4 separate regions of the Homo sapiens genome follow, and regions 1, 2 and 4 are each linked to region 3. The links are contacts of gene promoters, found by promoter capture Hi-C in human tissues and cell types (Jung and others, 2019). All regions are on one chromosome and are shown on one strand. Each heading gives the region's core, a stretch centred on a gene start or on the middle of the fragment in contact. The rest is flanking DNA. Distances are from core to core; before and after follow the strand shown.

Evidence for each region. Contacts are between HindIII fragments. The study calls those that stand out against the background at their distance.
Region 1: a contact is called between a fragment that was not itself captured here and the fragment with the promoter of TMEM17 in region 3, in 1 of the 25 tissues and cell types used here (H1 embryonic stem cells).
Region 2: a fragment that was not itself captured here is called in contact with the fragment with the promoter of TMEM17 in region 3 in 2 of the 25 tissues and cell types used here (adrenal gland and hippocampus).
Region 4: a fragment that was not itself captured here is called in contact with the fragment with the promoter of TMEM17 in region 3 in 2 of the 25 tissues and cell types used here (H1 embryonic stem cells and liver).

Annotation. Positions count from the first base shown.
Region 1 is chr2:62,633,854-62,637,340 of GRCh38, forward strand. No RefSeq gene overlaps it. Among named protein-coding and RNA genes, the nearest start is that of EHBP1, 70 kb to the right of the region's middle. The HindIII fragment of the contact is 4,331 bases long and covers 1-3,487 here.
Region 2 is chr2:62,660,748-62,663,736 of GRCh38, forward strand. No RefSeq gene overlaps it. Among named protein-coding and RNA genes, the nearest start is that of EHBP1, 43 kb to the right of the region's middle. RefSeq lists an enhancer at 1,836-1,885. The HindIII fragment of the contact is 6,067 bases long and covers 1-2,989 here.
Region 3 is chr2:62,504,875-62,508,125 of GRCh38, forward strand. TMEM17 (transmembrane protein 17) reads right to left here and starts at 1,321. Exons shown (of 4, transcript NM_198276.3): 1 at 1,156-1,321. The coding sequence starts at 1,255. It also overlaps the pseudogene RPL37P13. RefSeq lists silencers at 220-514, 852-1,021, 1,232-1,501. The HindIII fragment of the contact is 10,369 bases long and covers 455-3,251 here.
Region 4 is chr2:62,697,306-62,700,477 of GRCh38, forward strand. It overlaps a transcript of EHBP1 not described here. Among named protein-coding and RNA genes, the nearest start is that of EHBP1, 6.8 kb to the right of the region's middle. The HindIII fragment of the contact is 3,479 bases long and covers 1-3,172 here.

The DNA.
Region 1 (3,487 bases), core at 650-3,149, 130 kb after region 3:
TCAGCAGAATTAAACATTCCTGCCTGCCAGCTCTGAAGAGAGTGGAGGATCTCCCAGCACAGCACTTGAGCTCTGCTAAAGGACAGACTGCCACCTCAAGTGGGTCCCTGAACCCTGTGCCTCCTCACTGGGGGGCACCTCCCAGAGGGGTTGAGAGACACCTCATACAGGAGAGCTCTGGCTAGCATCTGGTGGGTGTCCCTCTGGGACAAACCTTCCAGAGGAAGAACAGGAAGCAATCTTTGCTGTTCTGCAGCCTCCGCTAGTGATACCCAGGAAAACAGGGTCTAGAGTAGCCCTCCAGCAAGCTCCAGCAGACCTGCAGAGGAGGGGCCTGTTAGAAGGAAAACTAACAAACAGAAAGGAATAGCATCAACATCAACAAAAAGAACGTTCACTCAGAAACCCCATCCAAAGGTCACCAACATCAAAGACCAAAGGTAGATAAATCTACGAAGATGGGGAGAAACCAGTGCAAAAAGTCTGAAAATTCCAAAAACCAGAATACCTATTCTCCTCCAAAGGATCACAACTCCTCACCAGCAAAGGGACAAAACTGGACGGATAATGAGTTTGACTAATTGACAGAAGTAGGCTTCAGAAGGTGGGTAATAAATTCCTCCAAGCTGAAGAAGCATGTTCTAACCCAATGCAAGGAAACTACGAACCTGAAAAAAGGTTAGAGGAATTGCTAACTGAATAACCAGTTTAGAGAAGAACATAAATGACCTGATGGAGCTGAAAAACACAGCATGAGAACTTTGTGAAGCATACACAAGTACCAGTAGCCAAATCGATCAAGTGGAAGAAAGGATATTGGAGTTTGAAGATCAACTTAATGAAATAAAGTGTGAAACCAAGAGTAGAGAAAAAAGAATGAAAAGAAACAAACAAAGCCTCCAAGAAATATGGGACTATGTGAAAAGACCAAACCTACGTCTGATTAGTATACTTGAAAGTGACGGGGAGAATAGAGTCAAGTTGGAAAATGCTCTTCAGGATATTATCCAGGAGAACTTCCCCAACGAAGCAAGGCAGACCAACATTCAAATTCAGGAAATACAGAGAACACCACAAAGATACTCCTCAAGAAGAGCAACCCTGAGACACATAATTGTCAGATTCATGAAGGTTGAAATAAAGGAAGAAAAGGTTTAGGGCAGCCAGAGAGAAAGGTCAGGTTACTCACAAAGGGAAGCACATCAGACTAACAGCAGATCTCTCAGCAGAAACCCTACAAGCCAGAAGGGAGTGGGGGCCAATATTCCACATTCTTAAAAAAATTTTCAACCCAGAATTTCATATCCAGCCAAACTAAGCTTCGTAAGCGAAGGAGAAATGAAATCCTTTACAGACAAGCAAATGCTAAGAGATTTTGTCACCACCAGGCCTGCCTTACAAGAGCTCCTGAAGGAAGCACTAAATATGGAAAAGAGAAACCGGTCCCAGCCACTGTAAAAACATGCCAAATTGTAAAGATCATCAACACTATGAAGTAACTGCATCAACTAGTGGGCAAAATAACCAGCTAGCATCGTAACGACAGAGTCAAATTCACACATAAAAATATTAACCTTAAATGTAAATGGGCTAAATGCTGCAATTAAAAGACACAGACTGGCAAATTGGATAAAGAGTCAAGACCCATTACCATGCTGTATTCAGTAGACCCATCTCACATGCAAAGACACACATAGGCTCAAAATAAAGGGACGGAGGAATATTTACCAAGCAAATCGAAAGAAAAAAAAAAGCAGGGATTGCAATCCTAATCTCTGATAGAACAGACTTTAAACCAACAAAGATCAAAAGAGACAAAGAAGGGCATTACATAATGGTAAAGGGATCAATGCAACAAGAAGAGCTAACTATCCTAAATATATATTCATCCAATACGGTGGCATCCAGATTCATAAAGCAAGTTCTTAGAGACCTACAAAGAGTCTTAGACTCTCGCACAATAATGATGGGAGACTTTAACACCTCACTGTCAATATTAGATCAATGAGACAGAAAATTAACAAGGATATTCAGGACTTGAACTCAGCTCTGGACCAAGCAGACCTAATCGACATCTATAGAACTCTCCATCCCAAATCAACAGAATATACATTCTTATCAGCACCACATAACACTTACTCTAAAATTGACCACACAACTGGAAGTAATACACTCCTCAGCAAATGCAAAAGAATGGAAATCATAACAAACAGTCTCTCGGACCACACTGCAATCAAATTAGAATTCAGGATTAAGAAGGTCACTCAAAACTGCACAACTACATGGAAACTGAACAACCTGCTCTTGAATGACTACCGGGTAAATAACAAAATTAAGGCATAAATAAATAAGTTATTTGAACCAATAGGAACAAAGACACAATGTACCAGAATCTCTGGGACACAGCCAAAGCAGTGTTTAGAGAGAAATTTGTAGCACTAAATGCCCACCAGAGAAAGCGGGAAAGATCTAAAATCAACACCCTAACATCACAATTAAAAGAACTAGAGAACCAAGAGCAAACAAATTCGAAAGATAGCAGAAGACAAGAAATAACAAAGATCAGAGCAGAACTGAAGGAGATAGAGACATGAACAACCCTTCAAAAAATCAATGAATCCAGGAGCTGGTTTTTTGAAGAGATCAACAAAATAGATGGACCACTAGCCAGACAAATAAAGAAGAAAAGAGAGAAGAATCAAATAGATACAATAAAAAATGAGAAAGGGGATATCACCACTGATCCCACAGAAATACAAACTACCATCAGAGAATGCTATGAATACCTCTACACAAATAAACCAAAAATCTAGAAGAAATTGATACATTCCTGGACACATACACCCTCCCAAGACTAAACCAGGAAGAAATTGAATGCCTGAATAGACCAATAACAAGTTCTGAAATTGAAGCAATAATTAATAGCCTACCAACCAAAAAAAGCCAAGGACCAGATGGATTCACAGCCAAATTCTACCAGACGTACAAAGAAGAGTTGATACCATTCCTTCTGAAACTATTCCAAACAATAGAAAAAGAGGGACTCCTCCCTAACTCATTTTATGAGGCCAACATCATCCCGATACCAAACCTGGAAGAGACACAACAAAAAAAGAAAATTTCAGGCCAATATCCCTGATGACCATCGATACGAAAATCATCAGTAAAATACTGGCAAACTGAATCCAGCAGCACATCAAAAAGCTTATCCAACAAGATCAAGTTGGCTTCATCCCGGGGATGCACGGCTCATTCAACATGTGCAAATTAATAAACGTAATCCATCACATAAGTAGAACCAATGACAATAACTTCATGATTATCTCAATAGATGCAGAAAAGGCCTTCAATAAAATTCAACACCCTGTTCATGCTAAAAACTCTCAATAAACTAGGTATTGATGGAACATATCTCAAAATAATAAGAACTATTAATGACAAACCCACAGCCAGTATCATATTGAATAGGCAAAAGCTGGAAGCATTC
Region 2 (2,989 bases), core at 325-2,824, 160 kb after region 3:
ATGCTTAGATGTACTCACTTTTCCTTGCTTACGTGACCCCATTTTGAATAATTGTAAAGGGGGAAACACCCTCATTACATACAAATAGAATTTTGCCATTTTGCAAACTGAGATAGATGTTGATTTTCTTTGAGGTCCCAGAATGACTTCTAATCCTTGTTCTTAGAACTGAACATATGTGACTCAATTTGAAAACAATGGCTAAAATGTTAACCTCTTAGCTCCAGCTAGACTGGATTCCAAAAAGTTATAGATCCTCTGGGTAGTGGAATAGCATATTTGTTTGGAATGCACCCAAATATCCTAACAAGATTTGTGAAAGCATTTTGCAACCATTGACACCTAACCACAAAATGTCTTCACATACTCAACTAGTGACGTGTAAACAGAAGAACAGGATTGTGTAGCAGAGCCAGTTTCAGGCAGCCCCACAACAGAAGATAATGCATTTCCACACTTTGTAAGAAATGGCATGGCCTAATATGAATGGATACCATGAAAATTGTGCATCTGAGCACATGAGTGGGCTCTTCAGTACCAGTGGAAATCTAGGATGAAATGGAAAGCCCTTGAACAAGCCATGCTAGAAATGATACAACCCAACCTGTTACGGAGGTGAAAAAGTGCTGGGCTTTCCATCCCTCGGAGGCTGAGACTGCTTGGCTACTGCTAGGAGAGTACAGCGATGGGTATCTCAGCATGGGGTGGCATCTTGTGCTTGCTCAGTTTAGCAAGCACTGTGCCTTGTGCTTGTAATGAACACTTAAGCATTTGAAGGATCTAAATGAATCAGAAGATCTAGTATATATTTCTCAAAGCCCTCCCCCTTGCTCACTTACAAATTGGCTAAATTCACAAACAAGCTGCTTTATCAATTCAAGGAGCCTTGCATGACTCCAAGTGAGTTACAAGTCTTAGATGTAAATAAGAAGTTTAACATTTTCTGAGTGGGAATATAGATATAGAAATATACTGTGCTGTCCTGAATTCCAAAGGTGGCATTTCCCACTATCAAAAAAGGTTTAAATTATTTAAAAAATAATTTTAAATTATTTATGTATTTACTTATTTATTTTTAAGCACTTACATGATACTAACCAAACACTATTTTAAGCACTTTACAAATATAAATTCACTTAATACTCACAGTCATCTTCACTAGGAAGGTATTACTCTTGTCATCATTCTATAGAGGGGAAATAAAGTCATAGACAGTTTAAGTAACTTGCCCAAAATTACACAGCTAATAAATGCCAGGATTGGAACTCAAGCAGTTTGGCTCTAAAGTCTATGCTATCACTTACTATGCTACATTATGAGGTTATTATTTTGGAATTTTCTTTATACTTAACTAGTAGATAAAATTTTTAGCTTGCAATACTAATGAAACCGTGATGGTGAATTCAACAGTTGAATGTGCTAATTATTGGAGCTCTGCATATATAATATATAAGCTATAGGCTATATTTTTAATATCAAAGTCTTTATTCGCTAACTTTTTCAGTTTACAAGATTATGATAGCTTTTCCTTTTAGGATCATGTGTTATTATAAACTAAAAATATAAAAAGCAAGCTAAGCACTATTTTAAAAAACATCCTAAAGGTACAATGCAAGGGACCAGTTACAAATGCCCAGAACCTGCTAGAGATTTGTAAGAAATCATTTAAAAGAGACTGGAAATACATTATTTGCCTGTTGAACACCTCAGTTCTTCCTTTCCATGCTGCTATTTGCATGAAAATTTGCTGCTTAGGTCAGGGCTTATGATAGGTTAGAAAAGTTTCCAATAGCCGAACACAAACCCAGGAATCAAAGTCCCCCAAATATACACAAAGGAAAAAACACACACACAACCTACCTAATCTGTAGCTAGAGTGCTTCTGGGCCATGGAACCACCCCATTGTGCCTTGGCCACTCCAGCTCAGAAACCAGAGTGTTGCCATGGTGGCAGGGACCCAACCGTGAGGGCTGGTTTCAATACCCAGCAGCTGTTCACTTCAGAAAAAGCAGGATGGCAGCCCACTTCTGAATGCGCATTTTTCTCTAGGCTTTGACCTGACCTGAATATTGTTTCTCATTGAATTTCCTTTTATTTATTTCTTTTTAGATATCAACTTTCCTTGAACTTTTCCTGTCATTTGTGTTGCAGTTGGCAGAACTACAGAACTTCTCCCTTCTGCAAAAAATGTGTTTTTTTTCTTTAACCATTTCTAAGTTTTTCCCTGTGTTGTCTTTATCTCCCCCACTTCTATATTTTACACACACACCTGTGCCTCATTATATGACGACCCAGGACAAATTCATCAGGTTTGTTTATTCCAAGAAGTGTGAAGGCCTCAGGTAGCCCCCTAAAAAATCCCTCCATGACTCACCTGACAGCAGAAATTTGTCCTATGAAACTTTGGAGCTGGATTAGAAAATATGACCCTTTACTCTCTTCATTCTGGCCATGGTCATAGAATCTGTGTTTAATCCTAAACACATTCTCAATTCACACTTGATTCATAACCTGCTTTTTTCTTCTCTTTGTTTACATGTTGGCAAAACATAAGGAATGTAAAAATATAAAAACTATTATGAATTATGAGCCCTGCTCACAAGGATTGTAGAAAAACTGTTCTTGATGCAAAAAGGAGCTGCACTATATTTAAGGTGAATTTATCCCTCTCCAGCTCTAAAGGAGTTTGGAATAATTTATAAATGAGGTTGTACTGCTGTTGAATATTTTTTTTAACTAGAAACAGTTTGTTTACAAGTTGTTACTAAAGACTGTCAGAAAAAAATGCTTGTGGACATGGTATCCAAAAGGCTGACAGAACCCAGAACTTGCTTGGTATTCATTTGAGAGCTCATCCAACATTATCCTGCACAGTGTATAATTACTTGCATGTTGGGAGCCAAAAAAGGGAATGTAACCCTGTGAGTGTGTGTTTATACTGAAAAGTTGGAGAAGCAAAACAATTCAGCAGCATTCTTCATCCCAACA
Region 3 (3,251 bases), core at 71-2,570:
TATTGTCAATGGCTGCCGTGGAGACCATATGGCCTACAAAGTCTAAAATATTTACTATCTGGTCCTTTTCAGAAAACGTCTTTTTACCTTGTATTATCAGACGTTAGTGCTCATTAAGCCTCATCCTTGGAACCAGAAACGTGAAAACCTATTTTTTTCACATTTTTCTCTGTACATCCTAAATCATAAAGGCCTACATTTGGGAAATAGGCAAGTGATCAAGGTGACAAAATGCAGCTTTGGGAACTGCCTTTACTTTTCTCTGTCCCTTTTAAAAATTCTCTAAAACCAAGCAGAGGAAAAGATTGATATTTCCCAGCAGAGTTGAATGATGAAAACCACATGGGTTTGGTTGACAGTGTGTTGTCTACCATCATGATGTAGGAGGAGGAAACTGTTCTGGAGGAAACTGTGTTATCACTTGACATCAAGTTAAAGGACGCAGAAGCATCATGGTATTTTGTTACCTTATGATAAGAGTTACATATAGGGGAGGAGGAGAAGGCAGGGAAGGGGTGAGTTTTGTTGAACGCCCGGCTAGTATGGCACATGCCAGTGGGAGTGGATGGTGGTTTGAAAGGACTCATTAACTTTTTTTTTTAATGTCTTCTACGAGAAAATGGCCTTGCTTAGGAACATACTTGTTCTGCTAGGAAAAGGGAAAAGGCAAATTTGTTCCCTGGGGTGGGGGTGGGGACGGGGGAGGTGGGATTGCTTGGGCTATTCCTCGTCATCCTGGACAGAAAAGCCGGGGCGGGCGCCGCAGAGGCAAAACAACTTGGGCCTTCGCTCTCGCGGCGCGCGGGGGACCAGCCTGTGCAGCAAGGGCGGCTTTTATCTTTTTATTTTTGGGGTTTCTCCGGGACAATGATGGGCCTTGCGCGGCACAGAGATCGGCCCCACGTCAGCTGCCGCGCTTGCAACAAGCTGGCCAGGGAGCACCACGCGGAGACCAGGCCCGGCCGGGGGCGGGAGGCCGCCAGCGCCTCAGCTCCCTGTCCGGCCCGGCCCCTCCTCCAAGGCGCTCTCCCGCACTGCGGAGAACTGGCTGAAGGCGACATCGCCATTTTAGGTACGGGCAAATTCTGGACGCTCCAAAATCCACGCCAAGCCCTCGGCAGGCCACACCCCCTGCACCGGGCCTCGGTCACTCACCCGGACCCTCATTGGACTCTGGACCGGTCCGATTGGAATCACTGAACACGGCCCGGCTGAAGTTTCCCAGCCGCTGGCGCACCGGATCCGGCAGCTCCATGCCTGGGCCTCAGTATCCCTCACCCCCTCAGACACGGGCTAGTCTGCGGGCGCTCCGAGGCTCCGTGGTTCCCACGGCAACCGGGCGGCGCGAGGCCGGCGGGACCCGGGAGCGCGCGGGGCTGCCCGGCTGGGCTGGGTCTCGTCCGGAGCCCGCGCAACCTGGAAGGGACCGGCGCGCTCAGAGCGCGTTCCAGGCCCAGGGAGCCGCGCGCCTCGGCCGTGTACAAAACGGCAGATCCCTTAGTTCTGCTTTGAGCTCGACCATCCTAAAAACAAACCTATACTAAGAAATGAGCTGGGGTTGGACTGCGATACAAGGAGCCCTCACATTTGCCAGTGGAACTGTAAATCGGTACAACCTTTCTGGAGAGAAATAGAGAACGAATGCAGAGCTTAAAGAATGTCTAGAGGTGTAGGGGTGTGTGTGAGAGAGAGAGACATCATGTGACTGATTATTTTTTAATAAGAAAACAGCAATGGGCAACTGATTAAATGTACTGGAGCACATACATTCAATGGAGTATGTTTCAGCTGCTTATAAAATGCTTGCAAAGGATATTGAATGGTATAGTTTAACTTTATGTAAAAATACAGCAGAAATAAAACTAAATGAGAATGAACCTAATTTAGCAAAATTTATGTGTATGAGTGGAGGGGAGGAGAGAGCGTGTGCACACTGGCTTGAAAAAAAGAACTGGAAAAAAGTCCAAAATGTTAACAGTCGTTTTCACTGGATAGTGGGATTGTAGGTGATTCAAAAATTTTTAAACGTCTTATTTTCTAGCTTTCTCTCAAGATATATTACTTAAAAAAAACTAAGTGTAATACACATACAGAAAAATTGTACACCTTTTGTAAGTAATATATATTACTTAAGAAATAAGTGTAATATATATACATAGACTGAAATCTGTATGTGTAATCAGCACCCTGTTCAAGAAACTTTACAATATTCCCAGAAACTCCCCCTTCCTATTTCCTTTCAGTCACTAAACCCACTCCTCACTCATAACTGACCTTTCCTGAATTCTAACAGCAAAGGAGAGTTTTGCCTTTTTTTTTTTAAATCAGAACATTTATTGTGTGACTAATCTAAAATTTTTTTTTTTTTTTTTTTTTTTAGACAGAATCTTGCTCTGTCACCCAGGCTGGAGTGCAATGGCACAATCTCGGCTCACTGCAACCTCCGCCTCCTGGGTTCAAGTGATTCTCCTGCCTCAGCCTACCGAGTGGCTGGGATTACAGGTGCCCGCCACCACACTCGGCTAATTATTGTATTTTTAGTAGAGACAGGGTTTCGCCATGTTGGCCAGGCTGGTCTCGAACTCCTGACCTCAAGTGATCCACCCGCCTTGGCCTCCCAAAGTGCTGGGATTACAGGTGTGAGCCACCGTACCTGGCCTGAAATTCTTAAGATGAACTGGATGCTGCAGCAGCTGTCCTCTTGGGTTTAGGTGGCATTCCTTTAAAAAATCCATGCCTTAACCTGCTGTACACAATTTTTAAGTGCCTCATTCGACCAGTCCCACTGGTATATTTTTTAGCCTCGGCACTCCAATTATACTTTATCTTGGCTTGGGAGGGTAGCCGCGTTTGCCACAGGCGGACTTTTGAAGGAGTTAGAGTCACAGGGCAGCACTAGCTGTGCATCTTATCGCACCACTTTCTAGATGATGACACTCCCTTTGTCATCTTGCTTCTGTTTTGCATATTTATATAAAAGCAATCATACTGTAAGTACTTTTTTAAAAAACTGGCTTTGTCTTCAACATTACTTTCATGAAATTCCTTCATGTCATTGAGTGTAGATTCTTTTGCCTTGCTCTTTGTGATCATACCACAATAAGCTTACTCATTCTACTGTTGATGAGTGTCTGTATTTTCTAGTTTGGAGCTGTTGTGTATAGTGCTGCTTTGGGGAAAAGATGCCTCTTGGTGAACATATGCATGCATTTTTGTTGAGTGTATATCGAGAGTGGAATTGCCGTGTCATA
Region 4 (3,172 bases), core at 445-2,944, 190 kb after region 3:
ACAGGACTCCAGTGCAAATATAGATTATAAATTTGTATGTGTTCTGACAAGTCTCTATGTGACTTTGCACAAGCAGCCACAACAAAAGGAAAGAGCTGGAAGTACAATAATACACATCTGATAATTGGATTTTATTGAGTGGGTGATCCTTTTATGTTAGTCCCCAGCACATTGTCTTTTATAACACTTTTCTCAGGTTTTTTGTCATTGTTAAACAAAGCACGGTCACCTCTCATCAACTGAAATTTTCTAAGGGAAATACTAAACAATGACTTCTAATAGAAGAGAAATATGAGCTCCAGGAGGACAGGGATTTTGTCTTTTTTATGTGCTGCATTCCCAATACCTACCAGAATGCTTTGACCTTAATAATTATTCACTGAATATTTCTTAATAAATTAACAGATTTTTCACTAAAAATATCATCAAAGAAAATCAAAATGAAAAAGCTATCATTCAAAGTTGTACTCTTGAACCTGTTGCCTTAGAACTTGCAAAGTCAACTGAAAGTTAATAAGATATTATTAAGGGAAATTAATAAGAGAAAACAGAATGAACTATTGGCAAAACTGATCCAGTAACATTCTTGGGCATACATCCATAGCATACAATGTTGAAGACCAGGTCCCATTATACACGCTGTGCAGCAATTTCATGTTACAGCTCTATATGTGTTAGAGAGAAGTACTCAACAAGTTGGTCTTTTTATCACTGACAAGTCACTGCAGGATTTTGGTAATTGTTATCTTGTTCAGCTGTAGGCTGGACAAGACACATGGCAAACAAACTGATTGGCACAAGGTAGTTTTGTGAATAGCTAGAAAGAGTGTTATTACAAGAATAAGAGAAGTTGAACAGTTAACAATATGCCTCCTATTCTTGCTTTAATTGTTCAAGAAAAGAGTGAATATTTCAAATATAATCAAGTTGTGACCTTTAAATATGCTCTTTTTAGCATGTGTTATGTGAAGAAACATGCACAAGTATAACACTCTCCTTTTCCACACTGAAGTATGCTGGTTAGCAGGTGCTCACACATTTTTGAAATGAGAAATGGGACACTGATAATGCAAGACAGTTGTTTCAAGGGGCTCTCTCAATATAGGTAACTCAGTACTATGTTCAATATCTAAAACAGACTCAACTTATTTCAGGGATAAAATATTGTGATTTTTAAAATTTTAAAGATAGCAGGATTTCTTCGGAAGATTGAACTATGGCACAAAAACCTGACTTGCTCAACACTTGAATTTCTTTTCTTGGAGAAAGAGATCAATGATGCATTATTGGGAATATTTTAAAATAGCATCCAAAAGTTGTGACAGAATATGAAGAAATATCCAGCGGCTCTCACAAAGTCATCTTTGCTTCCCAGGCTACGTTCTGATCACTGTAAGCCCAGTCACTAATTGGGTGACTTGCTGTGAAAAGAGAGGCCTGGAACAATATTGCAGCTCTCTCTGGCTCTCATGTTATTGCCCTTGCCCTGGAATTTTTCTCTATCTTGCCCTGCCCAGAAGATTGCCCAAACTGTGCATGAGTTAATCCTGCCCTTTGAAAGCTGGGTTTATTTTCCAGCTCTACTCATCTGGGACAAGCTTCAGCAACAGGGCTACTTTCCCTTGGCTCATGCCCAGTGCCCTGGTAAGTGGAGTTTTGCCTGCTTTCAGCTTGCTTTGAAATTTTGCTTTTTGTGTGTGTGTTCTTTGTACTGTATGGGATGGAAGTGCTTTGGTTTTACACCACAAGGGTTGTAGTCAATGCCCTCCAAGATTATGAATTTCTACCAGCTTTTCTTTGCCTTTCCTGTCTAGCCTTATTATTTCAGAATGATATTAATTATATTATCTTGCTCATACAAATATAATCATCTATGAATTATTCAGAGGAAAACACTGGCTGGATGCTGTATCTGGTTACCTGGATTTTTTTTCCAGTTTTTGAAAACACAGAAGAAGTGAAGCAAAGGTCAGTCTACCCCTTATAATTTGCCAAAGGCTCTTAACATTTCATGGGAAATGACCAGTAAGTCTTGGTCAAGAATCCCTGCTGATTTTATAGGAGATGAATTTATTGAATTTAGCAATGACTTTCTCAGCTGAGGTCTTAATTCCAACTCAAATCTTTGCTGCTATAATCCCAGTAATGGCCCACTTATTTGCAATATGTAAATTATCTCAGCTAGCTGCTTTTACCTTGACATACACATTTGTGGACTGGGACTTCACCATTATGAAAGTATCTTAAGTAGTTAGAAGGCTTAGATTGAGAGGATGCTATAGACCAGCAAGGGCACTCTAGAGTTAGGGCTGGTATTTAGTTAGTCCACAAAGGGACAACTAGGCCAACGTTTACAGTTGTCATCCATTCTAACTGATCAATGCCTATGCCATGTTGTTAACACACTGAATGTCCACACTTTGAATATCATTGTTGCCTGCAATATAAAGATTTCTAAGCTTCTAGTCATTCACTGTGTTGCTCCAGATTAACAACAGAAGTTAGTCCTGCCGAATCACCAGTGGATAGAATCTGTAGATTTGCTTCAGTCTCTACCTGAGTTTCAAGGAAGTCAAGAATGCTCCTCTGCCTCTAGCAACCAAGCCCATGTTGGTCTTTTCTAGATGCTGTGGAGCTGGACAAAATTGTATTTTTAGTATACAACTGAGGTCCTAGAATTAGTGCAATCTTAGGTTCAATGTGCAAAGCTTCATTATGACTAACTTCAAATATTCGTTCATGGGTAACTGCAACAGAAACAATTTCACCAAAGAATACTGTTCCTAATTGAAAGATGGTTTTCTAATGCAGCTTTTCTAAGCTTTTATGTCAACCAAAGAACTTGGGTCCTATAATGATAGAGTAAAAAAAAAAGGCCACCTTTTAAGAGAATAAACATAGGTTTTAAATTATTTTATTAAGAGTTATTATTTAAGGTTATATAACAGGCATAAATCTCAATCTAAAGAAATTCAGGTTGGCAAGAAACACAGTTTTATTTTCCCATTACTCAACCTAATTTCTATTTCAAGCTTTGATTTCACAAGGGGTGGCAAACACTTAATCATAGTCAATTTGGCAGGAACTGCATCTCAATTGAGGGGGCTTACATAGCATCACTATGTTGGGGGAAGGGGATGGGGCATTTAATCCTTGCTTCTCATCTACTATG